6 separate regions of the Homo sapiens genome follow, and all the other regions are linked to region 1. The links are contacts of gene promoters, found by promoter capture Hi-C in blood cells and fetal thymus (Javierre and others, 2016). All regions are on one chromosome and are shown on one strand. Each heading gives the region's core, a stretch centred on a gene start or on the middle of the fragment in contact. The rest is flanking DNA. Distances are from core to core; before and after follow the strand shown. Region 1 holds the start of SUGP2 (SURP and G-patch domain containing 2). Region 2 overlaps MAU2 (MAU2 sister chromatid cohesion factor). Region 3 holds the start of FKBP8 (FKBP prolyl isomerase 8). Region 4 overlaps GATAD2A (GATA zinc finger domain containing 2A). Region 5 overlaps KLHL26 (kelch like family member 26). Region 6 holds the start of REX1BD (required for excision 1-B domain containing).

Region 1 (4,811 bases), core at 1,641-4,140:
ACATTATCCCCTGACCAAGTGCAGTGGCTCATGCCTATAATCCCAGCACTCTGGGAGGCAGAGATGGAAGGATGGCTTGAGCCTAGGAGTTCAAGGGTGCAGTGAGCTAAAACTGCGCCACTGCACTTCAGCCTGGGGGAGAGAGTAAGACCCTATCACAAAAAAGAAACCAAACCAAAATAAAAACCTTTACCTCCTCCTAAATAAGGAAACTAAGGATCAGAGGACTGGTATTATTTGCCCAAGGTATTGTAATCTTCCTGCCTTGGCCCTAAGATACACCCCTACCAAAACAACAACTACAACAACAACACTTTATTTTACCTTGAGCTTTAAACTGAAGAGTTTCGCTTACAGCCTCACCACTGGCATCCATGTGATATCGTTTGGCTTTTTCTTGTAATACAGCATCAAAAGTCTCCTGTGTAATTCGTCTGGCTGCCATGTTATTTTGCCCTATGGTGAGAGAGAAAAAAATACACTAAGAGCAACAACTTGGAGCTGGGCGCGGTGGCTCATACCTGTAATCCTGGCACTTTGGGAGGTCGAGGTGGGCGGATCACCTGAGCTCAGGAGTTCGAGACCAGCCTAGGCAACATGATGAAACTAAAATACAAAAAATTCAGGCTGGGTGTGGTGGCTCACACCTGTAATCCCAGGACTTTGGGAGGCTGAGGTGAGCGGATCATTTAAAGTCAGGAGTTGGAGACCAGCCTGGCCAACATGGCAAAACCCTGTCTCTACTAAAAATACAAAAATTAGCCGGGCATGGTGGTGCCTGCCTTTAATCCCAGCTACTTGGGAGGCTGTGGCAAGAGAATTGCTTGAACCCAGGAGGCGGAGGTTGCAGTGGGCCGAGATCATGCCACTGCACTCCAGCATGGGTAACAGAGTGAGACTCCGTCTCAAAAAAAAAAAAAAAAAAATTTCACCAGGCATGGTGGCACGTGCCTGTAATCCCAAATACTCAGGAGGCTGAGGCATGGGAATTGCTTGAACCAGGGAGACAGAGGTTGCAGTGAGCCGAGATCATGCCACTGCCCTCCAGACTGGGGGACAGAGCGAGACTGTCTCAAAGAAAAAAAAAATGCGTGCTCACAGAACCTGCTCTATTTCACTTAATCCTCGAAGTAAGGAGGCAGTAATCCATAATCCTCGCATGGTACTTCAGAGGCAAGCTGGACCCTTTTTATTTATCTTTTTTTTTTTTTTTTTTAAGTAGAGACAGGGTTTTGCTAGGTTGGCCAGGCTGGTCTCGAACTCCTGACCTCAAGCAATCTGCCCACCTTGTCTGGACTCTTTTAAGGGGGTCTCTGCCCTCACGAAGTTCACAGGTGTGTGCTGGCTGAAAAGGAGCAAGACAAACCTTCTCTGGGCCCATCTCCTTGGAATCCATTAAAAGCAGCTCTGTGAAAGCAGTTCTATCTGCTGGAGGAAGGTGTCAACCAACACACATAACTGAGCATAACAGAGTAGGAAGGGTGGGACCACAACCCTCGCAAATCGTGGTTAGGAAAGAAGAGATCAATCTTTTTTTTTTTTTTCTTCCTTTTTTTGAGACTCTCCCTGTTGCCCAGGCTGGAGTGCAGTGGCATGATCTCGGCTAACTGCAACCTCCGCCTCCTGGACTCAAGCAATTCTCCTGCCTCAGCCTCCTGAGTAGCTGGGATTACAGGAGTCCGCCACCGCATCCGACTAATTTTTATATTTTAGGTAGAGATGGAGTTTCACCATGTTGGCCAGGCTGGTCTTGAATTCCTGACCTCAAGTGATTCGCCCGCTTCGGCCTCCCAAAGTGCTGGGATTCCAGGCCGTGAGCCACTGCGCCTGGCCCAGGATCACTCTTTTCCCATTCACAGACTCAGCAGGGCACAGAGGCTCTGAGAACTTCCTTCCCTTCTAAAAGAAGCCTCTTGACAGTGAGTGGCGGGACCCCCAACCAATGACAATGAACTAGTGACAGTTCATTCTGCGCTGGGTCCTTGCGCGATCTCCCAACCACCCACTGAAGAGGCGGGTCCTGTTATGAATGACATTAGGGTGAGGAGGCAAAGGGAGACAGACTCAACGACCCATTCAAGACCAGACAGCCCAGATTTGAACCTGGCAAAAAGGGTATTCGTGCATCCAAAGCCCCGAAGAATGAGTAAAAAGATTAAGCAACATTTTGGGGTCCAGGGGCTGCATCCTTAACCATCAAGATATCCCGCTTCGCAAAACCTCCAACTTCAAGAGACAACCCGTAGGGTCCATTTCCCATCACGATCACCGCCTCCCCCACCCGCCTCCCCCAGTCCCATCCTTCAGCCCTTTTCCCGGGGCGCCCCCTTGTTCTCTGCTGGCAAAGGGCAGGGTTCCCGGGTCAGGTGACCCAGGTTCAAATCACACGATTCTAAGCTTTCTGTGCTTCCGTTTCCCCACCTATGGAATGGGCAGCCAGTAAAGGGGCTGGTGTGGGGGCTGAACCGGTTCTAAAGAGGGCAAGGGCCCGATGCAGCGCTGGGCGCCGTTATCTCCTCCCGAGCGGGGGCCGCTCCGAGTTCGGGAGGAATGAATGAACGACTGAACCAATGAGCCTTTGTGGACGCGGCCCGCCGTCTCCCGGCCTCTGCGGGCGAGGAAATGGGGGCGCCGGGCCCGGGAGGCCGCAGCCGGCCACCCAGGCCAACCCGGCGGGGACGCGGCCGCCGCCGCAGCCAGAGGGCCGAGCCTGCGACGCCATCACGGAGCCCGGGGCGGGCCCCCAAGGCCGAGCCCGAGCTTCCCACCCCGGGAGCCACCCACCGACGACGCCAGGGCCCGGGCCTCACCCCGAGACCACCGCGCGCGGAGCCACCCCCGCCGCCGCCTCAGGCTCCTCACCCGCCGCCGCCGCCGCGCGAGGCGGGGACATGCAAATGAACCAACGGTCTCCGCAGCGCCGCGCCGCGCAGGCGCAAGCCGCCGCCGAGTCCTGGTGCGCAGGCGCGGGCCGCCGCGGCCCGGCTCTCTTGCGCAAGCGCGCTGTCCGCTTCTTCTGGGCGGACGCTCTGGAGGCAAAACATTTCCCTGCTGGGGGCGGCGACCACCGTGAGCGTCCCGGAAGGGGCGGCAAAGACGCCTCCGTCGCGCACGAGGTGGCCTCGTTGGCTTTACCTTGGTTCGCGGTCGTCCTTGGTTATCGTGAGCGTCCGCGAGTCTCTGGGAGGCCAAGCCTAGGGGCGCCACAGCGCCTGCGCGCGTACGGCGGCCGGAAGGGGCTAGAGGCGGCTCCCTGGGTGACAACCGCGCGCCCCACCTTTCCCCACGTGGCCGCGAAGACCGGGTGAGACGCTGCGGCTGCCGAGGCCTGTCCCGCGCGGAGTGGGGAGTGGGGGTGCCGCAGGGTCGGGCTGGCGCGACCCTCGGGTACGTGGTTTGGGGGGAAAAAAAAAATGAAAGAATTTTACAGAAGCCGCCTGGGGACAAAATCCTCGGCTTCCCTGGCATTCGCTTTATTTTCATTCATTTTATTTATTCATTCAGCACCTGTGCACTGAGTGCCTGCTGCGTGTCGGGCCCCGTCCTAGGCAGTGGGGACAAGGAGGCTACAGGGTACAAATAAATGAGTGAACGATGTTGCTCTAGATACAGGTAATGGTGTGCAAATAATAACAGAGTGATGGGACGGGAAAGCAGGGCTGCTCTTTATCTAGAAGTGGTTTTGAAGGCTGTCTCTTGAGTGCTGGGAAGGATGAGAAAGGCGGGGAAGAGGAACTTGGAAGGCTTAGATAGAGAAGGTGCGGATAAGGAGGCTGGGTTTTGTTCTGAGAGGGTTGGGAAGCCACTACCGGGCTTTGAGCACGTGAGTGAGGTGGAGTCTAGGCTCTGGGAGTGGCAGGTGACGCCGCCCTTAGGGGAGGCTGGTGTTTGAACCAGAGTGGGTGTGGCTGGTAGAGGGACATGTGGATGGAGTCTTTTAGAGTCCCCAGCATGTCATGGCACACGTTTAATTTTCTTTTGAGACGGAGTCTTTCTCTGTCGCCCAGGCTAGAGTGTAGTGGCATGATCTTGACTCACTGCAACCTCCACCTCCCGGGTTCAAGGGCTTCCCCTGCCTCAGCCTCCCGAGTAGCTGGGACTACAGGTGCGCAACACCGCACCTGGCTAAATTTTGTATTTTTTTTTTTTTTGAAACGGAGTCAAAAGGAGTTCAAGCGATCTCCTGCCTCAGCCTCCTGAGTAGCTGGGATTACCGGTGTGCACTATCTTGCCTGGCCTTTTTTTTTTTTTTTGAGACGGAGTCTCGTTCTGTCACCCAGGCTGGAGTGCAGTGGCGCAATCTCAGCTCACTGCAAGCTCCGTCTCCTGGGTTCAGGCCATTCTCCTGCCTCAGCCTCCCGAGTAGCTGGAAATACAGGCACCCGCCACCACGCCCGGCTAGTTTTTTTGTATTTTTTTAGTAGAGACGGGGTTTCACCGTGTTAGCCAGGATGGTCTTGATCTCCTGACCTCATGATCCGCCCGCTTCGGCCTCCCAAAGTGCTGGGATTACAGGCGTGAGCCACCGTGCCCGGCCCTGGCTAATTTTTTGTATTTTCAGTAGAGACAGGATTTTGCTATGTTGGCCAGGCTGTTCTCAAACTCCTGACCTCAAGTGATCTACCCGCCTCAGACTCCCAAAGCGCTGGGATTATAGGCCTGAGCCACCGCACCTGGACAGCACAGTTTTCTTGATGAGCAGATTCCTGGCTGAGAGAAGGAAACTGGCTGCCAGTTAGGGGCCTTACTCATCTTCTGTTTTACCCTCAGCATGCCCTGATGGATAATAGGGACTGGTAATGCTGCTTCCC
Region 2 (4,508 bases), core at 470-2,969, 310 kb after region 1:
AGGAGGGGATCTGTGCAGGTGGGGTCTGTGCTTCCTGGGCTCACTCCACCTCTTGCCCAGCCCCACTGGGAACCAGGGTCTGAGCAGGGCTTGAGCTACATAGATTGGACCCTCTCTTGACGAACGATCTCATTTGCCAAGAAGAGCCAGGGACCATGGCCCATCCACCACCTGTCATCAGCAGCATTTCTGGTCTCTGACACAGCATCACCTACCTGGAGCGGGGCCTGTGCTGGCCCCCTGTGGGACAACAGCTCCCCTCTTCCCCACTTCCCCCTATGAAGAGTGACCCCCGCCTAGGACCAGCATATGCCTTGATGGCAGTGGACACCTGGGTCCCACAGGTTGCTGGCTGTGGCCTGGAGGAAGGGTCCACCAGGTCTCAGTCCTGAGAGACAGTGGAAAATGGACCAAAACCCGACATGTTCTGAGGGTAGGATTGGGGTGGCTGGTTTTCCTCTTCTGTGTTCTCTAACTGCCCCGTAACGCAGATGATGGTTTTATAATGAGAAGAAGTAATAGCTGTGTTATCCTTGAGCTTAGGAGGCAAAACAAGTGTGTTTGAAATGAAAAGAACAAGTCTTTTCCAAAGTAGTCTCCGTGGAGATTGTGGGTGCTCTGACACTGCCACATGGGTCACAGCACCCGACCCAGCCCCCTAATGTCCCCGCCTCCCATTCCAGCTCACCAACCACCAGGAGCTGTGGGCCTTCATCGTCACCAACCTGGCGAGTGTGTATATACGGGAAGGAAATAGACACCAAGAGGTAGTAGGTGACATGCTTCATGTTCGGTATCCTTTCTCTCTGTTCTCTTCTTTTTGGGGAACCAGGGGGTTGTCCTGGGCACCAGCACATCTCAGCAGACCCCAGGGTGTTCACCTTTTGAGGGATGGGCGGCACCCGACACAGACACACAAGGCGACCCAGAGGTGAATCGGGCTATGGCCGGGGGAGGCCAGGTCTGGGACAAAAACATTCCCATAGCCACAGAACACTTCTCTTTATCACAAACAAACCAAGCTGTATGAATCACACAGACAAGGTCTTATAGCCCAAGCTGTCTGCTCTAGGATGTCGGCCAGGCATTGAGGCTCAGTCCTAAGGGGCAGCAGCCAGAGCACCTTGTCCCCAGGTTGTGCTGATGCCCCTGCAGGATCAGGGGCACTCACTGGCTGCAGTGTTGGGTGGGGATGCCCAGGGTTGCCCTCACGTGGCGCTTCTGAACCAATGCTTGCATAAGAGTTAGGTTCCCTCTTCTGTCCCTTTTAGCCCTGGGATCCCCACTCAGCCCTGGGATCCCCCTCAGCCCCGGGATCCCCTCCTCAGCCCCGGGATCCCCTCCTCAGCCCTGGGATCCCCCTCAGCTCTGGGATTCCCTCCTCAGCCCTGGGATGCCCACTCAGCCCTGGGATCCCCCTCAGCCCTAGGATGTCCCTCAGTTCTAGTATCTCCTTCACCTCTGGGGGTCTACCTCCAAAGTGTATCAGGCCAGGTGCTTGGCTCACACCTGTAATCCCAGCACTTTGGGAAGCAAGGCAGGAGGATCACTTGAGGTCAGGAGTTCAAGACCAGCCTGGGCAACATAGGGAGACCCCCATTTCTACAAAAAAATTTTTTAAAAACTTGGTGGGGTGCAGGCCTGTGGTCCCAACTACTCGGGAGACTGAGGCAGGAGGATTGCTTGAGCTAGGGAGATTGAGGGCTGCAGTGAGCCATGATCCAGCCACTGCACTCCAGCCTGGGCGACAGAGCAAGAACCTGTCTCAAAGGAAAAAGAAAGCCCAGCCCCGGCTTAGTCATCCGATGCCATACGTGGGCTCGCAGTGTTGAGGAGGAGTTTGGCTCCCCTGTGCCTCTGCAGCTAGAGGGCAGCTAAATTATCAGTCAGATCACGCCCCCATCAGAGCCTCCCGGGGTCCCTGCACCTCCAGAGAAATCCCACCCACTCACCCCCACAGCCCACAGGGCTCACGGGCCCCAGCCTGCCAACCTACCCACTGCCAGGCCAGCCCCTCAGCACCACTCTGACCATACAAAGGCCTTCTGGACGCCCAGGCCCCTGTCACCTACTGCAGGACAGGGTGGCACAGGCAGGGCTGGCTGAGGGTGTGGAAATCTTGCCCCCGGCCCTTCTCACCAGAGGCTGCTCTTGCTGGTCAGTCACCAGGCTCAGCCTGGAGGCCACAGTCCCGACGGGGGTGTAGAGAAATTCCCATGCACTGCAGTGTGTCTTGGGGACCTTTCTCCTGTGAAGATGCAGAATGGTGCTGACTGGCTCTTTCCCCCGCAGCTCTACAGTCTGCTGGAGAGGATCAACCCGGACCACAGCTTCCCTGTCAGGTGAGCCGCTCCAGGCACCACTCCACGCACGGCCTAGGCTCCCCGTGCTCTTTGGTTGGGGCCCCTGACTGCCCCTTGCACCCTGACACCCCATACCCCTCCTCACAGACAGTCTGCAGTGGGGGCTCTCAGAAATAGCCCCCAGCTGCCCACTGCCGTTTTGTAAACCTGCTTCTCAAAATCACCACCCCATGTGATACTGCACTCTCCCTGCAGCTCGCACTGCCTCCGAGCAGCCGCCTTCTATGTGCGTGGGCTCTTCTCCTTCTTCCAGGGACGCTACAACGAGGCCAAGTAAGTGTGGGGCAGAGGGTGGCGTGAGGGCCATGCTCAGGGTAGCCCAGGCCCCGTCCTGCAGTTATCAGCGTCCATGTTCTCCTTGTCAGGCGATTTCTGCGGGAAACTCTGAAGATGTCCAATGCTGAGGACCTGAACCGGCTCACAGCCTGCTCCCTCGTGCTTCTGGGCCACATCTTCTATGTGCTGGGAAACCACAGGGTGAGTGCCCTGGCCTGGGCCCCTCGCTTGGGTGCCTGTGGGGCTTGGCTGAGGGACAGGAGCCGGCCAGCACCCTAAGGGTGGCATGGCACTGTTCATCCTATGCCCCTCGAAGAGCACGTCTAGGTGGATGCCCTGACTCCCACAGCCTGGGCAGGCAGGGCCAGAGGAGCTGGGCACCCACAGAGGGTGTGGGGGGAAGGCAGGAGGCCTGATGGGTGTGGCCTCAGACATTGGGCAGGCAGAGCCCCAGGGCTCAGGGGAGCTGAAGCCAGAACCAAAGGAGCTGCCCTGAGCTACTGGGGATGACGCAGCCACCCCATGCTATGTGTTGACACCTGAGGGGCAGAGAGGTGTCTCCTCTCAGCCGGACTTCCAAACATATCATCCTTGGCCAACACAGTGTCCTCTCAGGGTACAAGTGGCCCCTGGGATTGGTCCCCACCCAAGGTCAGCCAGTCTCTGGTGGGACTGGCCGCCTCAGTCCTTCCTGTCAATTCCTCGCCTACTCTCACCCACTGATCTCACGAGGTCTTGAATTTTTTTTTTTTTTTTTTTTTTTTAAGAAGATATTTTGGGCAGGCACAATGGCTCACGCCTGTAATCCCAGCACTTTGGGAGGCCAAGGCGGGCAGATCACCTGAGGTCAGGAGTTCAAGACCAGCCTAGCCAACATAGTGAAACCCTGTCTCTTACTAAAAATACAAAAATTAGTGGGGCGTGGTGGTGGACGCCTGTAATCCAAGCTACTCGGGAGGCTGAGGCATGAGAATCACTTGAACCCAGGAGGCAGAGGTTGCATTGAACGGAGATCATGCCGCTGCACTCCAGCCTGGGCAACAGAGTGAGACTCTGTCTCAGAAAAAAAAAAAAAAGATGTTTTTGGGACAGGCACGGTGGCTCATGCCTGTAATCCCAGCACTTTGGGAGGCTGAGGTGGGCAGATCACTTGAGGTCAAGAGTTCAAGACCAGCCTGGTCAACATGGTGAAACCTCATCTCTACTGAAAATACAAAAATTAGCCAGGTGTGGTGGCACACATCTGTACTCCCAGCTATTCTGGAGGCTGAGACAGGAGAATTGCTTGAACCCAGGAGGCAGAGAGGTTGCAGTAAGCCGAGGTCGTGTCATTGTACTCCATCCAGCCTAGGTGAGAGCAAGACTCCATCTCAAAAAAAAAAAGGCCGGGCATGGTGGCTCACGCCTGTAATCCCAGCACTTTGGGAGGCCAAGGCGGGCAGATCACAAGGTCAGGAGATCGAGACCATCCTGGCTAACACGGTGAAACCCCGTCTCTACTAAAAATACAAAAAATTAGCCGGGCATGGTGGCAGGCGCCTGTAGTCCCAGCTATTTGGGAGGCTGAGGCAGGAGAATGGCATGAACCAGGAAGGCGGAGCTTGCAGTGAGCCGAGATCCCACCACTGCACTCCAGCCTGGGCAACACAGCAAGACTCCATCTCAAAAAAAAAAAAAAAGATATTTTTGGCCAGGCACAGTGGCTCATTGCTTGTATCCCTTTGGGAGGTGGATGGGGGAGAATCCCTTGATCCCAGGAGTTCAAGACCACCAGCCTGGGCAACCTAGTGAGACCCTCTTTTTTTTTAATTTAATTTTATTTTTTGAGGCCGAGTCTCACTCCGTCACCCAAGTTGGAGCGCAGTGGCA
Region 3 (4,359 bases), core at 1-2,500, 490 kb before region 1:
TGCCCAAGGTCACAGAGAAAGCCAAAGGCCAAAGGAGGATTTGAACCTGGGGCTTCAGGCCCTGTGGCTTTGCCTGATTATAAGCTGAGCGAAGGGTGCTGGGATTTTTGTGGAGAGGACAGCCTCCGAGGCCTTAGGGAAGCCATTTTTAGAGCCTCTAAGGCCACTGGGGGAAATTGAATCTTTTACCAGGGCCTCCCACCTCCAGCCTCTTCTCCAAAGGGGAGACCCTCCCCAAAAGCACCAACTGTAATCACCCAGAAACCCCAAGCGTTTTTTCCTTCCACACTCTGAATCTAACACTATCCCCCACAACCCCAACATCAGGGACCCTGGCCCAAATCCTTCCCCAGGAGACCATCCTCCTCTCATCAGGCCTCGGTCCCACCCCCTCAAAGCAGCCTCCTTTCCAGGAGTGGTCGAGGTCCCACCACATTCTACAGCCTCTTCCTTGCCCCAGACCTCCTGAACCAATAACCAACCCCTCCGTCCCCCAGGCCCCAAGCTCAGAAGAGTGTGGCACAGCCATCAAACCAGCCCGCCGCATCCCCTCCCTAACCCTCACCTGCCTGCTCCTCCCGGGCTCGGAGCCCCACTTTGAGAGACCCTCCCAGCCCCCACCCCCATAATTCCCCGCGCCCGCACAATTCGGCCTCCCCTCCCACCCCCCACCCCAACCACCACCGCCCCCAGCACGGGCCAGCTCCCCCCACAGCCGCTCCGTCTCGCCGTAAACACTCCAGTGTCCCCAGACGCCCCCCCCTTTCCGATCCCATAACACCCCACGCTCTCCTGACGCCCCACAGCCCCGGCCGGGCCCTCAGTCAAGCCGCGACCCAGGCCCCCAACGACCCACGCCTGTCTGACGCCACCAGTCTGGGGCACCCGACCCCCGCACGCCTCGGGCGCCCCTGGCCCTGCACGCCTCCATCGGGACCCCCCCACTGGATCCCCTTTGCCCCCAGTGACCCCCATCCCTGGCCACCCCCGCCCGGCCGCGCCCCCTCGGGCACCCCCGACCCCCGTGCCCCCCCGGCTCGCCACCCCCGCGGCCCCTCGCCCCGCCCATCGGCCGCAGCCCCCGGCGCGCTAGCCCCCGGACCAGCCTAGGCCAGGGCAGCGGCCCGGCCGGCACGGCGCCCCCAGCACCCCAGGACACTTGCCTCTGGCTCCGGGACCCCCACTTGGGGTCCTGCGCCCCCCTCCCCGCCCCCAGCCGCGGCCGCCGCGCCTCGGGAACCAGGTTCGGCCGCTTGGCCCCGCCCCTGCCGTGCCCATTGGCCGCCGCTGCCGCGACTGCCGCACCCGTTGGCTCATGCAGACGTCCGTCCCGGGCGTTGGCACCTCCCCCTTCCTGCTTGGCCCCGCGGGGCGTTCTTAAAGGGACCGAAGCCTCCCGGCTGCTGGGGCTGGGGCGGGGGCTGGGGCGGGGGCTGGGGCGGGGGCTGGGGCGGGGGCGGGGGACCCTGGGCTGGACCCCAACACGGGTCAGTATCGCGCAGCCTGTGCGACTCCTGCCTCTCCTCTGAGCTTCATCCTGACCATCTGCGAAATGGGGATAAACACCCCCATCTATGCACTCTCACCTTGGGGGCTGCTGGGGGCACAGTCCACTCTAAATGTTATTTCCTTAAAGAGTTCAAGCTTGACGGGCAGGGCAGCTCTGGGGTTGCTGAATGACCCATCCTGAAGCCTTAGTTACAGAAGTGAACCTGAGGGCCTGAGGAGGAGTGACGTGCCCAAAGGCATACAGAAACCTCCCTCCCATCCCCCACACAGTTTAATGTCTAGAAGGTTGCCTGGTGCATACTGGAGGCGCTCGATTACTGCTGCGCAGGCGACTGAGCCAGCAGGGCCACTGGGAGGAGTTCCTCCTCTATGCACTGTCTGCTGGAGGGTGATAAGGTCCCCATGGCTCGGGAAGAAGGTGGCATCCTTGATTAGCTAAGTTTTTGTGGATCTTGTTTTGAAACCGGGACACTTCTCCCTCCTTCACTCAGTTTTATTTCCTTCCTAGCAGTTACTCCTTCCAGAATTATCTTGTCATTATTTTGCTTGTGGTTGGAGGGACCATCCCTCACTCTGCTTCATCCTGGCAGAGATTTTTACCTGATTTGTACCCAGCACCTCCTTGAACCATGCCTGGCATCTATAGAAGCTCAATAAATGGGTAGGTGGATGGATGGATGGATGGATGGATGGATGGATGGATGGATGAGTCAGACACCAGCTTTTGGAGGTAGCTATCATGGAGGTGGTAACTGGCTTTTTGGAGATCACTTCTAAGGTTGGAGTTCCCAGGTTACCTCCTACAGGAAGCCCTCCCAACCTCCCCAAGGCAAGACCAGGTGCCCCCTTTAGCTGTCTTGGCACAATGAAGTTGATGAACGTCCACTTCATAACTAGTTTACTTGGGTTTTTTGTTTGTTTGTTTGTTTTTGTTTTTTGAGAAGAAGTTTCACTCTTGTTGCCCAAGCTGGAGTGCAATGGCGCAATCTCAGCTCACCGCAACCGCTGCCTCCCAGGTTCAAGCGATTCTCCTGCCTCAGCCTTCCAAGTAGCTGGGAGTAGAGGCATGCACCACCATGCCTGGCTAACTTTGTATTTTTAGTAGACACGGGATTTCTTCATGTTGGTCAGGCTGGTCTCAAACTCCCGACCTCACGTGATCCGCCCACCTCGATGTACCAAAGATTACAGGCATGAGCCATCGTGCCTGGCCTTTTTTTTTTTTTTCTTTCTCTTTTTTTTTTGAGACAGAGTCTCTCTCTGTCGCCAGGCTGGAGTGCAGTGGCGCGATCTCGGCTCACTGCAACATCCACCTCCTAAGTTCCAACGATTCTCCTGCTTCAGCCTCCTGAGTAGCTGGGACTACAGGCACCCGCCACCATGCCCAGCTAATTTGTATATTTTTAGTAGAGACAGGGTTTCACCATGTTGGCCAGGATGGTCTGGAACTCCTGACCTCATGATCTGCCTGCCTCGGCTTCCCAAACTAGTTTACTTATATCTCTGCCTTTTTTTTTTTGAGATAGGGTCTTACTTTGAAACCCAGGCTGGAGTGCAGTGGCACGATCTCAGATCACTGCAACCATGTCTATCTCCTGGGCTCACGCAATCCTCCTGCCTCAGCCTCCTGAGTAGCTGGGCCCACAGGTGCACCATCATGTCCAGCTAATTTTTTTTTTTTTTTTTGAGACAGAGTCTCGCTGTGTAGCCCAGGCTAGAGTGCAGTGGCGCAATCTCGGCTCACTGCAAGCTCCGCCTCCCAGGTTCACACCATTCTCCTGCCTCAGCCTCCCAAGTAGCTGGGACTACAGGCGCCTGCCACCATGCCCGACTAATTTTTTGTATTTTTAGTAGAGTCAGCGTTTCATCGTGTTAGCCAGGATAGTCTCGATCTCCTGACCTTGTGATCTGCCCACCTCGGCCTCCCAAAGTGCTGAAATTACAGGCGTGAGCCATCGCGCCCGGCCCAATGTTTATATTTTTTGTAGAGATGGGGTTTCCCCATGTTGCCCAGGCTGGTCTCGAACTCCTGGGCTCAAGCAATCCTCCCACTTTGGCCTCCCAAACTGTTGGGATTATAGGCGTGAGCCACTGCTTTGATTTACCTCTGCCTTGCCCTCTACACTGGCAGAGCCCCAAAGTCTGGGAAGGCTTTGTTCTTTCTCATTGTTATAGCTCTGAGGCTTGCACAGTGCCTGCCACAAAAGGTAGTGGTGGGGTCTCACGGAAATCACTGAGGAAGGAAGGGAGGTTAAAGGTGGTAGCATAGCAGAGCTATGTAAGAAATCACCTGGAGGGCTGGGTGCGGTGGCTTATGCCAGTAATCCCAGCACTTTGGGAGGCCGAGGTGGGTGGATCACCTGAGGTCAGGAAATCTAGACCAGCCTGGCCAACATGGTGAAACCCCGTCTCTACTAAAAATACAAAAATTAGCCGGGTATGGTGGTGCATGCCTGTAATCTCAGATACTGGGGTGGCTGAGGCATGAGGACTGCTTGAACCCCAGGGGTGGAAGTTGCAGTGAGCAAGACCCAGTCTCAAAAACAGCCTTTGGGAGGCTGAGGCAGATGGTTCACCTGAAGTCAAGAGTTCGAGACCAGCCTGGCCAACATGGTGAAACCTGTCTCTGCGAAAAATACAGAAATTAGCCGGGTGCGGTGGCACATGCCTGTAATCCCAGCTACTTGGGAGGTTGAGGCAGGAGAATCGCTTGAACCCGGGAGGCAGATGTTGCAGCGAGCCAAGATCACGTCACCGTACTCCAGCCTGGGCAACCTAAGCCTGGGTAACGTAGTGAGAGCCTGCCTCTACAGAATATTAATTAATTAATTTGGAGACACAGTCTCCCTC
Region 4 (4,166 bases), core at 1,092-3,591, 430 kb after region 1:
GGCCGAGGATTGGCCAGTAGCAGGCCCTGCGTCATTGGTCTTGGCAGTGGAGGAGGCTCCTGCCAAAGGAGCCCCCTGCACTCGGGGGCTGGCCCCACCCCCTCCAGCTGTGCCTGTCCTTCCTGAGGTGGGGGAGGGGTGCCGCAGGGCCCCGCCCCGCAGTGGCCTGCCTCTGGGAGGCACAGGCATAGGGCAGGCGGGCGCTGTGAGGCCAGCCGTCAGTGCCGGGCCTGGGATTGGCAGAGTTCCAGGCCTTAGGCTTCATAGTGAGCTGCTGTGCACCTTGAGTACACGCCAGCCAGCCCTCTGCTGAGGACCCTGACCTGCTACCACAACAGGGGGCCCAACAAGAGAGGTCTCTGGGGCTGGAGGGAGCAGCTCTGCTGGGCACCTGAGGCCCTGCTCCATCCTGCATCTCTCAGAACCTCTGGGTAGCCTCTGGTCCTATACCAGTGAGAACGAAGTGAGGCCACACAGGCACGGCCCCCCTGATCTGGCTGTCAGTTCCACCTTGTCCATGTGGGCTGGAGCAGCTTCGAGAACTCATTCAGGGTCTTGGGTTCAAATGGGCTTCATGGAACTGAGCCCAGAGCTTACAGGGTGGGAGGCTGTGCTGGGAGGGGCCCTGCCTGGCTGGAACAGGGGCAGAGTGGGGAGCATGGGGGTTTCTTTGAGTCACAGGGAAGGGTGCTATGTCCTGGAGGTGGAGGTGCATTCTCCCTGTCCACCTGGGGACCTCATCCCCAACAGTAGTTATAAGGCCAGACTGGGAAGCTTCATCCGTAGAGTGGGGCCCTTACTTGTCCGAGGTCCTGGCCTCCCCTCATCTCTCACCTAAACAGGCTTTTCCCTGCCCTGGGCCTGGGAGTGCACATACCTGCTGTCTAAGGCAGTGCTTGAAGGAGAAATGTCCCACCCCTCCCACAGTGAGGGAAATGAGAGGAGGGGACCCACACTCTGAGGGCAGTGACTTATCTGTGGTCTCATGGGAGGCAAGACAGACAACCTGTTAGTGAGCAGTTCAGATGGGGTTTATGGGCAAGGCATGTCGGAGGAAGGAAGGACAGAGACCATAGAACTTCAGGGCTGAGAGGGACACCGTAGCATTCCTCACCTCCCCCAGAGAAGTGAGGCCATGACCTCCACATTCGACCTCTACCTGGGCTCCATTCCACGGAGGAGCTGAGGGGCAGCTGAGCAGGAGCGGGGGCGGGGGTGGACAGGGTGGCCGGGGGCAGCGGAGGCCGCACAGTTGGTGTGGGATAGGTGGTAGGTGCAGGCTGGGATGCCAGAGGGGCTGGGGACAGGTGGAGGCAAGTCTGAAAACCTGTGCCCTTGAGATTCGGAGTCTCCCTGCCTCAGCCTGGTCATGTTAAGGGTCAGCCATGGCACCTGGGTGGTGGTGAGACAGGGTAGGGAGCACAGAGCTGCTCTGGGCCTGTGTGAAGCACCAGGGATTTCCTGGCCTTGAGGAGACCCCAGTGTTTCAAGCCGGTGCCCGGGTGCCCTGGCTGGACCACACTGGCACAACACGCATGTAGACGGCCTGCTTTCCCTCTGGCTCCAGGAGCGTGAAGCAGCTGTCTCTTTCTTTCCTTTCAGTTTGAGTGCATGAGGGGGCACATTTGGGCAGGGCCTTGCGCTATTGCTCATTTGTGAAATTGGCTCCTTTAAGGAAGCTGCAGATGAGTCAGCTCTGGAGTGCGTCCCATGGATGGCGACAGGACCCCTGTGTTGCCTTGTGCTGCCCCCAGCTTCCAGACGGTCTGCCTGGCTCTACCTGGGACAGGCTTCCCCAGGGTGTTTGCCAGTGAGGAAACTAAGGCTCTGGCAAGATGAGTGCCCTGCCTGTGAGGACACAGATAGGACCAGAGGGCTTCAGCATAGAGCATGCCACAGGTGTGAATTGGGGTTCTCTGTGGGGCCCAAGTGGGCACCAACTGTCCCATGGAAAACTGTGACACTTCGGGAATTCCACTAGAGCTCAGCTGCTAAATTTCTCTTTTGTCCTCTGGTAAACACTGGGATGCTTTTTTAAGAACCTGACTCTCTCTGTCTCAATTCCTGTGCCCTGTCCTGTTGGGACGTCGAGGCCGGGATTAGAGCAGCCCCTTTAAGAGTGCCAGTGTCCCAGACCCTGCTGTGGAATGCCAGCCGCCTCCCTGCAGACAGACATCGCTGTGCTGTCGTCCTGTCTCCGTGAGGGTTAACAACACTTCAGCCTGTTGTCTGGAACCGGTTCAGACTGGTTTTCTGGAAAGTGCTTTGTCTCTCCGACTGAATCCTGGGAAGGGTCATGTGGAGCCAGTGATGTCATGGGATCAAAAACTGACTCAGCTGTTTTTTTCTTCTTTTTCTTTCTTCTTTAAATCAAGATATGTGTGTGCTGCAGGTACAGGGCAGTGGCACGTTGATGGGCCAGGCCTCACTCTACTCAAAGTGTACCTCACTGGCAACCAAAGGGTTAAATGTGATCCCCAGTCCCCACTCCCCAGAGGTGAGCAGGGAGTGAGGAGACCTCCCTTCCCTGAAGGGGAGAAGCTGGGGTTAACTCGAGTCACCACAGCATAGGGCTAGTCCCAGGCCCCGACCCTGCTCCTGGAACAGTGCAGTCACCGCCCTCCTGGATTCCAGACATTGCAGGTGCTGAAAATCCCAAAGGCAGGTAGTTGAGATCTAGAACAACTTTTCCTCTGTTTGCTGTTGAGCCTTTCCTTGCTGATAAGCAGCCACCTTCCACTGCTCCTGTTCAGCACCCTGCTGCCTCTGGCCCCCAACAGGGCAGGGTGTAGTTTGGCTCCACCAATGTTCAGCCACACAGTGGAGGCTGGGGACACCCCCCTCCTGCCTAGCCTTCCTCAAGGCAGTGATGAAATGTCCTGGGGATGCTTTTCTGGGCCCTGCGTTTGTTGTACATTCTTTTGCCATCCTTCCCATAGGGAGGAAAACACTGAAAGCAACACTGAAAAGTCTCCAAGAAGGTGGCACCTTCATTGCACCCAGTTAAAATGTTGTGTCTTCTCCTCCCTCCCAAGTTCAGAATGACCGAAGAAGCATGCCGAACACGGAGTCAGAAACGAGCGCTTGAACGGGACCCAACAGAGGACGATGTGGAGAGCAAGAAAATAAAAATGGAGAGAGGATTGTTGGCTTCAGATTTAAACACTGACGGAGACATGAGGGTGACACCTGAGCCGGGAGCAGGTCCAACCCAAGGATTGCTGAGGGCAACAGAGGCCACGGCCATGGCCATGGGCAGAGGCGAAGGGCTGGTGGGCGATGGGCCCGTGGACATGCGCACCTCACACAGGTGAGTGGGAGGAGCCAGCGGGAGGGGCTGGAACCTGGAGACAAGCCCAGTGTGCCCAGGTTGGGGCTGGCCACACTCCAGGCCTGTTGGTAACAGCTTGGCGGGGTTGTGGAGAGGGCTGTAGGCTCAGCTCGGGCATCACCCACCACTGGCAGCTGTGCTGTTGTGGCCATTCCAGGGCCCCAGGTCCCAACTGCAAGTGGCACAGAGTGTGGGTCTCACAGGAGAAGGAGTGGCACATTCCATCAGCTCCCCTGCCATCAGTAGGCCTTTGCCACCCACGCACCTGCTGTCTGTCCAACTCGGTGCTTTTGGTTTGTAGGGACACTTGAGTTATTCATTTGGTTATGCTTCCCTGCTTTTCAGATCTAGAGGTCAGAGGGCCAGGAATGCTACACCTACCTTGGTCACTTGGCTAGGGATAGAGTTGGGAGCCCAGCCCAGGGCACCCTCCTCGGAGCGGGTACGGGATGCTCACTCGACTCCATGTTCACTTGGTGCTGGTCTTTGGCTTGCTCTGTTGGTTTGTCCTTAGTCAACACTGATTACTTCAAGAGTGACTTTCCTCATATTCACCTTTTATGAGTCTCTTAAGGTAAAAGCTTGAAATAAAAATAAGACCCAATCTACCACCTATTTCTTGACTTCAAAACCTTCCTTTCTCTCTGTAAAGACAAATTCAGACCCAGCACCTGCTCTTGCATCACCCCTCCCCTTGGAGCTCTCCAGAATGTTCATGCCCAGACACCCACTGAGGGCTGTGGTGTGGCCACAGCTTCCCGGCTGGCCCTCTGACAAACTCCTCTGTGGCCCGTTGCTCTCTCTCCTCACCGCCCACTGGAGTCTTCTCCCTGTG
Region 5 (4,593 bases), core at 557-3,056, 390 kb before region 1:
CTAACACCTGGTATGGCCAGTCCTTAGTTTTAGCCATTCTTATAGGTGTGTGCTGGTGTCTTCATTTGGTGTTTTTATTTATTTATTTATTTGTGAGATGAGGTCTCACTCTGTCGCCCAGGCTGGAGTGCGATGGTGCGATCCTAGCTCACTGCACCCTGGAACTCCTGGGTTCAAGCAATCTTCGGGCCTCAGCCTCTGGAATAAGTGGGATTACAGGTGTGCACACCACTGTTCCCAGTCTTATTTTGGTTTTAATTTGCATTTCTCTAATAACTAATGATGTTGGACAGTTTTTCATGAGCTTCTTAGCTATTCATCTCTTTGGTAACGTGTCTTTTCAAATGTTTGGGCCATTTTTAAGTTGGGTTGCCTTTTTTTTTTTTTTTTTTTTAAGACTGAGTCTCGCTTTGTTGCCCAGGCTGGAGTGCAGTGGTGCGATCCTAGCTCATTGTAACCTCCACCTCTTGGGTTCAAGCGATTTTCATGTCTCAGCCTCCCGAGTAGCTGGGATTACAGGTGCATGCTACCACACCCGGCTAATTTTTGTATTTTTAGTGGAGACGGGGTTTCACCATGTTGGCTAGACTGGTCTCAAACTCCTGACCTCAGGTGATCTGCCTGCCTCAGGCTCCCAAAGTGCTGGGATTAGAGGCATGAGCCACCACACCCGGCTCTTTTTCTTTTTTCTTTTTTTTTTTTTTGAGATGGAGGCTTGCTCTGTTGCCCAGGCTAGAGTGCAGTGGCGTGATCTTGGCTCACTGCAACCTCTGCCTCCCAGGTTCAAGCAATTCTCCTGCCCCAGCCTCCCGAGTAGCTGGGATTACAGGCGTGTGCCACCACACCCGGCTAATTTTTGTATTTTTAGTAGAGACGGGGTTTCTCCATGTTGGTCAGGCTGGTCTCGATCTCTTGACCTTGTGATCTGCCCGCCTCAGCCTCCCAAAGTGCTGGGATTACGGCGTGAGCCACCATGCCCGGCCCTCTTTCTTAAAAGACATCTTTGTCATTCTCCCCTATCCTCCATCCTAGTGAAAAATCACTGTTTGGAGCAACTGATAGGGGCATCTCATGCCTCAGGTGCTAGTGTGGGGAGAACCCCTAATGTGGCAAGATGGAGCATGCAGAAAATGGATCATATTTTGAGGGAGATTGGTACAAGACATTCTCCCAAAAGTCATTTTGAGACATTGAGTCTTTGTAGCATTGTTCGTCTGTTCCTTCATTTATTGCAAATGGGACAGCCAGGCCTGGAGCACGACCCACCTCCTCGCCTCAACCTGCCCACGTCTCCTTCCTCTTCATCCTTCCACTCTCCAAGGTTCTGGCCCCTCAGAGCCACCTGCCTGACCATGCAAGCTCAAGTAGTCCCCAGGACACTTTTGCTAGTCACCTAGTGTGTGTGTGTGTGTGTGTGTGTGTGTGTGTGTGTGTGTGTGTTTGAGATGGAGTTTCGCTTTTGTTGCCCAGGCTGGAGTGCAGTGGCATGGTCACTGCAACCTCCACCTCCCGGGCTCAAGCAACTGATTCTCTTACCTCAGCCTCCCGAGTAGCTGGGATTACGGGCGCCTGCCACCAAGCCTGGCTAATTTTGTATTTTTAGTAGAGGTGGGGTTTCTCCATGTTGGCCAGGCTGGTCTGGAACTCCTGACCTCAGGTGATCTGCCTGCCTGGGCCTCCCAAAGTGCTGGGATTACAGGCGTGAGCCACTGCGCCCGGCTTGTGGTTTTTTGTTTGTTTGTTTGGTTTGGTTTGAGGAAGAGTCTCACTCTGTCGCCCATGCTGGCATGCAGTGTCGTAGCTACCTGCAGCCTTCTTGACCTCCTGGGCTCAAGCTATCCTTCTGCTTCAGCCTCCCGAGTAGCTGGGACTACAGGCATCTACTAACACACCTAATTTTTTTTTTTTTGAGACATTGTCTCATTCTGTCGCCCAGGCTAGAGTGCAGTGGCACAATCTGGACTCACTGCAACCTCCACCTCCTGGGTTTAAGCGATTCTCCTGCCTCAGCCTCCTGAGTAGCTGGGATTACCAGTGCACGCCACCACGCCCAAATAATTTTTGTATTTTTAATAGAGACGGGGTTTCACCATGTTGGCCAGGGTGGTCTTGATCTCCTGACCTCGTGATCCACCTGCCTTGGCCTCCCAAAGTGTTGGGATTACAGGCGTGAGCCACTGTGCCTAGCCCACACCTGACTAATTTTTAAAAATTGTTTTGGGCCGGGCGCGGTGGCTCATGCCTGTAATCCTAGGACTTTGGGAGGCCGAGGTGGGCAGATCACTTGAGGTCAGGAGTTTGAGACCAGCCTAGCCAACATGGTGAAACCGCTTCTCTACTAAAAATACAAAAATTAGCCAGGATTGGTGGCACGTGCCTGTAATCCCAGCTACTCGGGAGGCTGAGGCAAGAGAATCACTTGAACCCGGGAGGCAGAGGTTGCAGTGAGCTGAGATCGCTCCACTGCGCTCCCACCTGGGCGAGAGAACCAGACTGTCTTAAAAAATATATATATTATTTTATAGAGATGGGGTCTTATTATTATTTTTTTTTGAGATAGAGTTTTGCTCTTGTTGTCCAGGCTATAGTGCAATGGCATGATCTCGGTTCACCAAAACATCCGCCTCCTGGGTTCAAGCGATTCTCCTGCCTCAGCCTCCCGAGTAGCTGAGATTACAGACATGTGCCACCATGCCTGGCTAATTTTGTATTTTTAGTAGAGATGCGGTTTCTCCATCTTGGTCAGGCTGGTCTCGAACTCCTGACCTCAGGTTATCCGCCCACCTTGGCCTCCTAAAGTGCTGCGATTACAGGCATGAGCCACTGTGTCCGGCCAAGATGGGGTCTGATTATGTTGCCCAGGCTGGTCTTGAACTCCTGGGCTCAAGTGATCTTCCTGCCATAGCCTCCCGAAGTGCTGGGATTACAAGCATGAACCACTATGCCCAACCTGTATTTTTGTTTTTTGTTTTTGAGGTACTATATATGTAACACAAAATTCACCCACTTTAAGTGAACAATTCAGTGGCATTTAGTACATTCACAGAATTGTGCAACCATCACTGCTGTCCAGTTCCAAAACATCTTTGTCCCCGCAAAAGGTGACCCCATCTTCATTAGCACTAACCCCCTATTCTCCATTGCCCAGCCCCTGACAATCACCAATCTGCAGTCTGTCTCTATCCGTTTTCAAGTTTTATAGGTAGAATCATGCACTATGTGGCCTTTTGAGTCTGGCTTCTTTCACTCAGCATGATGCTTTGGGGGTCATGCATGTTGTAGCCTAAATCAGCACTTCATTCCTTTTTATGGCTGAGTAATATTCCACTGTGTGGATGCACCACATCATCCATTCATCTGTTGATGGACACTTAGATTGGTTCCACCTTTTGGCTATTATGAATCATGCTGCTATGAACATGAGTGTACACATTTTTGTCTAAACACTCATGTTCAGTCCTTTGGGGTACACATCTAGGAGCAGAATTGCTGGGGCGCATGCTTGTTGTATATTCTTGATCATGCTGGTCACCACCTAACGTTATTTGTTGTGTTTCTCTGGTGCCTTGAGGTTGGAAAGCCTGTCTCTCTTGTGCCCTCTTGTGTGCCTGGAACATGAATGACACAGAAGGAGGAAGTGTCCCAGAGACGTGGCTGAGAGGGAGGAAGGGAGGGATGGGGGTGTGCAAAAGCTTATTGCTCTCTGAGGCTTGCAGTCTGGCAGGTAGGAATTCCCTTCTATGGGATCAGGTCGATCTTTTGCCTTTCCAGTGAGGCTTGTGGGGCTGCTGGGGGGCAGTGGGGGCTGGCCTTAGTCTCTAGCTGCCTTTCTAGCCTGCCAGGCAACGCCCGCATCTGCCTTTTTGTCCCACGAAGGTTTTGTCTTTTGGCCAGGGGCGGGGGCAGTTCCTGTCTTCCCCCTGGCCCTTCCAGCGGTACCACAACTCAAGAAACTGTCCCCAGGAGGGACTGCGCTCCCCCACCCCCGACCGCCCCCAACGTTATATAACTTGTTTGTTCCAACTTCTGTCTTCTGCAACCGAGGGGGAAAAAAGAAAGAGAAAAGCTTATTCTCCTTCCTTCCTATCTCGAGGGATCAACAAAAAACCCGTTGCCTAGTAGAGGTGGTCATTAATGACTGAGCCGAACCTCAGGGATGGACAGAGTGGGGCTGCCCTGGCTGGGGTGTGCGGAGAGGAGGTGGGGTCCTTGCTGCAAGCACAAAGGACACTTGTTCACCAGCTGGCCTCCTCCCAGCTCGGGCCGCGGGGTCTAGACTCCTTGGAGGGAAAGGAGGCTTGGGCCACTTGGGGTGTCGCAAGGGGAGGCAAACCCTCTGGGGAGTCGCACCTCCCCAGCTAAAATTCTGTCACTGTGAGGTACCTGACCGGCAGAGTTTTGGAGGAACCTTCTGGCCTTGCAGCCTCTCCGACATGGGCCTTTGGCATCCACGCTTTTTGGCCCACGCTCCCTGGAGACGCCTGGGTAGGGCCCAGGCTCACTGAGTCATGCTGTTCCTGGGGGTGAGGTGGGGGGATCTGGGTGAGGGATGTGCCAGCTTCAGGCATTTGCATAAGAAGTGGTGGCTAGGCT
Region 6 (4,849 bases), core at 13-2,512, 450 kb before region 1:
TTGTTTTTGAGATGGAGTCTCGCTCTGTCGCCCAGGCTGGAGTGCAGTGGCGCGATCTCCCTCACTGCAAGCTCCGCCTCCCAGGTTTGCACCATTCTCCTGCCTCAGCCTCCCGAGTAGCTGGGACTACAGGCGCCCACCACCACACCCAGCTAATTTTTTGTATTTTTAGTAGAGATGGAGTTTCACCATGTTAGCCAGGATGGTCTTGATCTCCTGACCTCGTGATCCACCAGCCTTGGCCTCCGAAAGTGCTGGGATTACAGGCGTGAGCCACTGCACCCAGCCGAGAGTTTTTCTTAATGCAGCTAGCCACCGGTTTGCCTTACAGGAACCCCATAATACGTCCTTGGCAAATTCTATTCAGCTCCAACTGCTAGGAGTGGCCCATTTGTCCTGAACCCTCAAATCATGGGAATGAGAAATGAATTTAGACTGACCACAGCCCTTATGAGTTTTCAGCTACAGGGGTGTATAGAACCCTGATAAGGAGTTTTCTTTGTGTGTGGAAGATCCTTCTATATTTGCCTCCCCACCAACTGGACAGGAACTTGTACTTTAGCCTACATAGTACCTCCTGTGACTTATTCCTTTTCAGAAGAGGCAGTAGCTGTGCCCATTCATGCTAAGCTTCAGCCGAGAGCAATCTCACTACTTCCTCTATTGGCTGGTTTAGGATTTACTACCACCTAGGAAGTGGACTCACAGCCTAGATGAAATCTCTCTCCAACTTACTCAAATCCAGGACCAAATAGACTCATTAGCAGCTGTGGTTCTCCAGAACCAGTGAGCACTAGATCTCCAATCTCCTCACTGCCGAAAGGGGAGGAACATGCCTTTTTCTGAACAAGGAATGTTGTTTTTATGTCAATAAATCAGGCATAGTGAGAGATGGAATTAAATGACTTCAGGATAGAGCTAGCAGACTACATGGTGGGACAACCGAAACTACCTCAGGGTTCTCACAGCCTGTTCTCCACTGGCTTCTTCCATTTTTAGGTCCCTTCCTTATGATTATTCTAGGAGTAACCTTTGGCCCATGTCTTTTCAGTTCCTTCATCCTTTCGTTTCTTCCTGAATAGAATCAATGAAACTAGAAATGTTACTGCAGATGGAACCTCAGATGACTTCAACCAGCACCTATTATCAAGGACCCCTAAACCAGCCTGCCGGCCCATACCCGGACGTTGACACCCAAACCACCTCTCACGAGGAAACCTCAGCTACAGAACCCCTTCTATGCCCCTATTCAGCAGGAAGCAATTAGAGTGGTCATCCTCCCACACCCCAACAGCAGTTGGGCTCTCCTGTTGAGAGAGGGGACTGAGGGGTGGAGTTGGCAGGATTTACTGGGCAGGTTTGGGGACTTTCACAGAAGACCCCTGTGACTCAGTGTTTTGAGTTCTTAACCAATCGAGTGAAGGATTCAGAATTAACCACTCCAGGCCGGGCGCGGTGGCTCACGCCTGTAATCCCAGCACTTTGGGAGGCCGAGGCGGGCGGATCACGAGGTCAGGAGATTGAGACCATCCTGGCTAACCCGGTGAAACCCTGCCTCTACTAAAAATACAAAAAATTGGCCGGGTGTGGTGGCGGGCGCCTGTGGTCCCAGCTACTGGGGAGGCTGAGGCAGGAGAATGGCGTGAACCCGGGAGGCAGAGCTTGAAGTGAGCCGAGATCGTGCCATTGCACTGCAGCCTGGGCGACAGAGCGAGACTCTGTCTCACTAAAAAAAAAAAAAAAAAAAAACAAAAAAAAAAAACACTCCAGAGGAGGATTGAAAAAAGAACCACTCTCAATGGACAAAAAGAAAGGGGAGGGGTAACATAGGGATATGAGCCCTAGCCACCGGAGCCAGCAACGGCAACCCTTCCGGGTCCCCTTCCAGCATGTGGAAGCTTTCCTTTCGCTTTGTTCAATAAACTGCCCTGCTGCTCACTCTCCTGGTCCGTGGACTCTTTTTGATCTGTAACACACACCGCGAAGGTCCACAGCTTCATTCTTCAAAGTTAGCGAGACCACGAACCCATCGGCAAGAAAAACTCCCAACTCACTAACAGCCTAGTCCCTTCCCCCTTAAAGGCTGGTGTCTGTCACCCCATACCTGAGCTGGTCCCTCTTCACTAAGTCAGGCTACCAGCATCTTCCTGCTCCTCCGGCTGGGCCCCTGGAGGAGGAAGCTTTCCAAAGCTCTGTCTAGCCCATGTATCCCTCCAGCAGGAAGCTCCAAGGCCTCCTCTGTACTTTGAGGTCGTTCTGGCCCCTGCTATGCTCCAGGCTCAGGGCTATTACACAAGACACCCAATTCAACTCGGTGGGCTGTTGACACCGTCCCTGTCACTGAATCTTGTCTTCACCCCTGTGATTCTCTGAAGAGCCAGTGAATCTCTGTTAATGTTGGTGGAGTTCCAGCCACTGCACTTTTTTTGAGGCAGACTCACTGTGGCTCCGGCTGGAGTGCAGTGGCATGGTCATAGCTCATGGCAGCCCCCAACTCCCGGGCTCATGTAATCCTCCCACCTCAGCCTCCCGAGTAGCTGGGACTGGAGGCGGGAGCCACCATGTCGGGCTAATTGGTTTTTCTGTAGAGATCGGGCCTCCCTAGGTTGCCCAGGCTTACTTAACACTCTTGAACGTCAAAACCCACGCTCAGTACCCGCTTCAAGTGGAAGTCGGTGTTGAGATACAAGCATAGGAACGAACTCAAGGCTAACAGCTGTTCTGTATTCAGAGCCGCACAATCAAGGAAAAACACGATCGGAGGCGGGCCCTGGACGGGAACAAGAAGGGTGGGCTTGACTGGGCGGCCCGCGGTCTTGGTTCCCCTTTCTTCCTTCTGGCTGGCCGGCCGCAGGGTAGGGGGTCCGTGGACCTCCCGGCCTGTAGGGGGCGTCGGGCGCAGCGGAAGGGCCTGCTCCGGAGCCTGGCCAGGGCTGCGCAGTCATGATCACCGAGACCGCGGCGGAGCCTACGGTCCCTGCAGTGCCTGCTGCTGAGGAGGCCACCGAAGCTCGGGGACGCGAGGAGCCGGCGTGGCCCTGGGTGAGCCCAGGCCCAAGCGGGAACGGGCGCGGGGCGGGCGGCGCAGACCCAGGGGCGCGGGCTTCATGCCCCAGCCGTGCCCCCTGTCCCGCAGAAAGACGCCCCGATCCGGACGCTGGTGCAGCGCATCCACCAGCTGCAGGCTGAGCGCGCGCAGGGCTTCCGCCGACTGGAGGAGTGAGTGGGGGCGCGGAGGGGCTCAGGGTTCGGTCCCCCGCCCGCTCCGGGCGTGGGCGTGTTCTCGGCGGGCGTGCCTGGAGGAGGAGCTGGGTCCTTGTGTGGCTGCAGAGTCAGATGGGGCGGGGATTTCGGGGCACCGGGTCCTCACCTTCACGAAAAAGGCCCCACAGCACGTCCCCACTACCCGACGACTCACTCTTCGTGGCTTCTCTCTCCTCCCCAAGAGCAGGGGTGGGCCTGTCTCGCGTTCCCCTGCGGGAGTCAGGAAGCGTCCTTCCTACCTACCAGTCCTCCCCTCTGGTGTCTGGGGACACTTCCTGGGGGCCTTTCAGGTGGTTGGCGCCGGTGCAGGGCCTGAGAGCCTGGGGGCGCGGCCTCAGGGTCCCCACATGCCGCAGAGGCCACCGCCAGTACCTGCGCAGCGGCCCTGACTACGACTTCGCGCGCTACCGGAGCACAGTGCACGGGGTGACCCAGGCCTTCGCCGCCGCCTCGCGGGAGGTGCTGGCGGTGGAAGCAGAGCTGGGCGGGCCTCGCAGGCAGCCGCTGCTCGCCGGCCACGTGCGCAGCCTGCAGGAGCTGGAGCAGACGCGGCTGGGCACGGTGAGGCCACCACCCCTTCCCCGCCGTGTCTCTAGGACCCTGGCCGGCTCCTCTCATGACGCACCCCTGGTTGGGGGGTGGTCCCAGTATCCCATACACAGACCTCACCCCTTCCTGTCCCACCCCAATCCTCTATTAAGGCTTCACTTGGGGATTCTCGGACCTTGCCCTCTGCTGTTCATCCCCAATTTTTTTCCCAAGTTTTGTCCTTATTCCCAGAGCACTCCCGCTTTCTCCCAGCTCCGCCTAAATGCTATTCCAAGATGCCCAGATCCCGCCCCAACAATGCTCCACCCACTCTGGTTGTTCCGCGTCTAGGGTCCCACCCTCAACCTCCCGTAGATACAGGCGAGGGGGGTCCCAGGCCACGCCTCCTCCGTATTATTCCTCCATCACAGCTTTAGTTCTTTGCCTATTTCTCTCTTGCGATCCGCCTGCTCGGCCCTGCAACCGTGTGTGACTGGAATTCCTAGGCCACGCCCCCCATGAGCGACCCGTCTCAGCGTCTCTTTGGCCTTTTTCTTTCTGGTGTTTTTTTTTTTTTTTTTTTTTTTTAAGACAGGCTCTTGCTCTCTTGCTCTCTCACCCAGGCTAGAGTGCAATGGCGCGATCTCGGCTAACGGCAACCTCCGCCTCCCAGATTCAAGCGATTCTCCTGCCTCAGCCTCCTGAGTAGCTGGGATTACAGGCATAATTTTTGTATTTTGTATTTTTTTTAGTAGAGACGGGGTTGTGCCATATGGGCAAGGCTGGTCTCGAACTCCTGGTCTCAAGCGATCCGCCCTCTTCTGCTTCCCGAAGTGCTGGGATTTCAGGCGTGAGCCACCGCGTCCAGGCTTTTTGGCCTACTTTTATCCTGGGTCCCCGTCCCTGGGACCATGAGGCGCAACCTAACCCACCCCTACGGCCAATGCCTGGCTAAGACGTCACTGTTGTTCCCAGGCCACGCCCACATCGCGCTCAGCACTGCCTCTGGCCTGCCTGCTGTCTCCTTTCTGAGAGAGCCTCTAAACTGAATTTCGGA

The links. The method cuts DNA at HindIII sites, captures the fragments that hold promoters and counts their contacts. A CHiCAGO score of 5 or more calls a contact.
Region 2: a fragment that was not itself captured here is called in contact with the fragment with the promoter of SUGP2 in region 1 in 1 of 17 cell types (M1 macrophages); the score reaches 5.5 in M1 macrophages.
Region 3: a contact is called between the fragment with the promoter of FKBP8 here and the fragment with the promoter of SUGP2 in region 1, in 1 of 17 cell types (fetal thymus). The highest score is 5.7, in fetal thymus.
Region 4: a fragment that was not itself captured here is called in contact with the fragment with the promoter of SUGP2 in region 1 in 1 of 17 cell types (erythroblasts); the score reaches 6.4 in erythroblasts.
Region 5: a fragment that was not itself captured here is called in contact with the fragment with the promoter of SUGP2 in region 1 in 2 of 17 cell types (M0 macrophages and monocytes); the score reaches 6.2 in M0 macrophages.
Region 6: a fragment that was not itself captured here is called in contact with the fragment with the promoter of SUGP2 in region 1 in 1 of 17 cell types (activated CD4 T cells); the score reaches 5.8 in activated CD4 T cells.

Annotation. Positions count from the first base shown.
Region 1 is chr19:19,030,627-19,035,437 of GRCh38, forward strand. SUGP2 (SURP and G-patch domain containing 2) reads right to left here and starts at 2,891. Exons shown (of 11, transcript NM_001017392.5): 1 at 2,811-2,891; 2 at 325-456. The coding sequence starts at 445. ARMC6 (armadillo repeat containing 6) reads left to right here and starts at 2,977. Exons shown (of 9, transcript NM_001199196.2): 1 at 2,977-3,304; 2 at 3,505-3,612. The coding sequence starts at 3,584. RefSeq lists an enhancer at 1,623-2,124 and silencers at 2,051-2,130, 2,551-2,980. The HindIII fragment of the contact is 2,753 bases long and covers 2,396-4,811 here.
Region 2 is chr19:19,346,597-19,351,104 of GRCh38, forward strand. It overlaps MAU2 (MAU2 sister chromatid cohesion factor), which reads left to right. Exons shown (of 19, transcript NM_015329.4): 13 at 684-770; 14 at 2,293-2,342; 15 at 2,559-2,636; 16 at 2,729-2,840. Among named protein-coding and RNA genes, the nearest start is that of MAU2, 28 kb to the left of the region's middle. RefSeq lists an enhancer at 2,336-2,836. The HindIII fragment of the contact is 7,729 bases long and covers 1-4,508 here.
Region 3 is chr19:18,542,323-18,546,681 of GRCh38, forward strand. FKBP8 (FKBP prolyl isomerase 8) reads right to left here and starts at 1,251. Exons shown (of 9, transcript NM_012181.5): 1 at 1,164-1,251. RefSeq lists a silencer at 1,067-1,496. The HindIII fragment of the contact is 8,591 bases long and covers 1-1,642 here.
Region 4 is chr19:19,462,305-19,466,470 of GRCh38, forward strand. It overlaps GATAD2A (GATA zinc finger domain containing 2A), which reads left to right. Exons shown (of 12, transcript NM_001384528.1): 2 at 3,036-3,310. The coding sequence starts at 3,042. Among named protein-coding and RNA genes, the nearest start is that of MIR640, 29 kb to the left of the region's middle. RefSeq lists an enhancer at 1-751. The HindIII fragment of the contact is 3,138 bases long and covers 773-3,910 here.
Region 5 is chr19:18,640,943-18,645,535 of GRCh38, forward strand. The region is part of intron 1 of KLHL26 (kelch like family member 26); the gene reads left to right. Among named protein-coding and RNA genes, the nearest start is that of KLHL26, 6.2 kb to the left of the region's middle. The HindIII fragment of the contact is 3,768 bases long and covers 1-3,690 here.
Region 6 is chr19:18,585,859-18,590,707 of GRCh38, forward strand. It overlaps REX1BD (required for excision 1-B domain containing), which reads left to right and starts at 2,940. Exons shown (of 5, transcript NM_001100418.2): 1 at 2,940-3,042; 2 at 3,137-3,219; 3 at 3,555-3,825. The coding sequence starts at 2,944. RefSeq lists a silencer at 2,768-3,287. The HindIII fragment of the contact is 1,268 bases long and covers 629-1,896 here.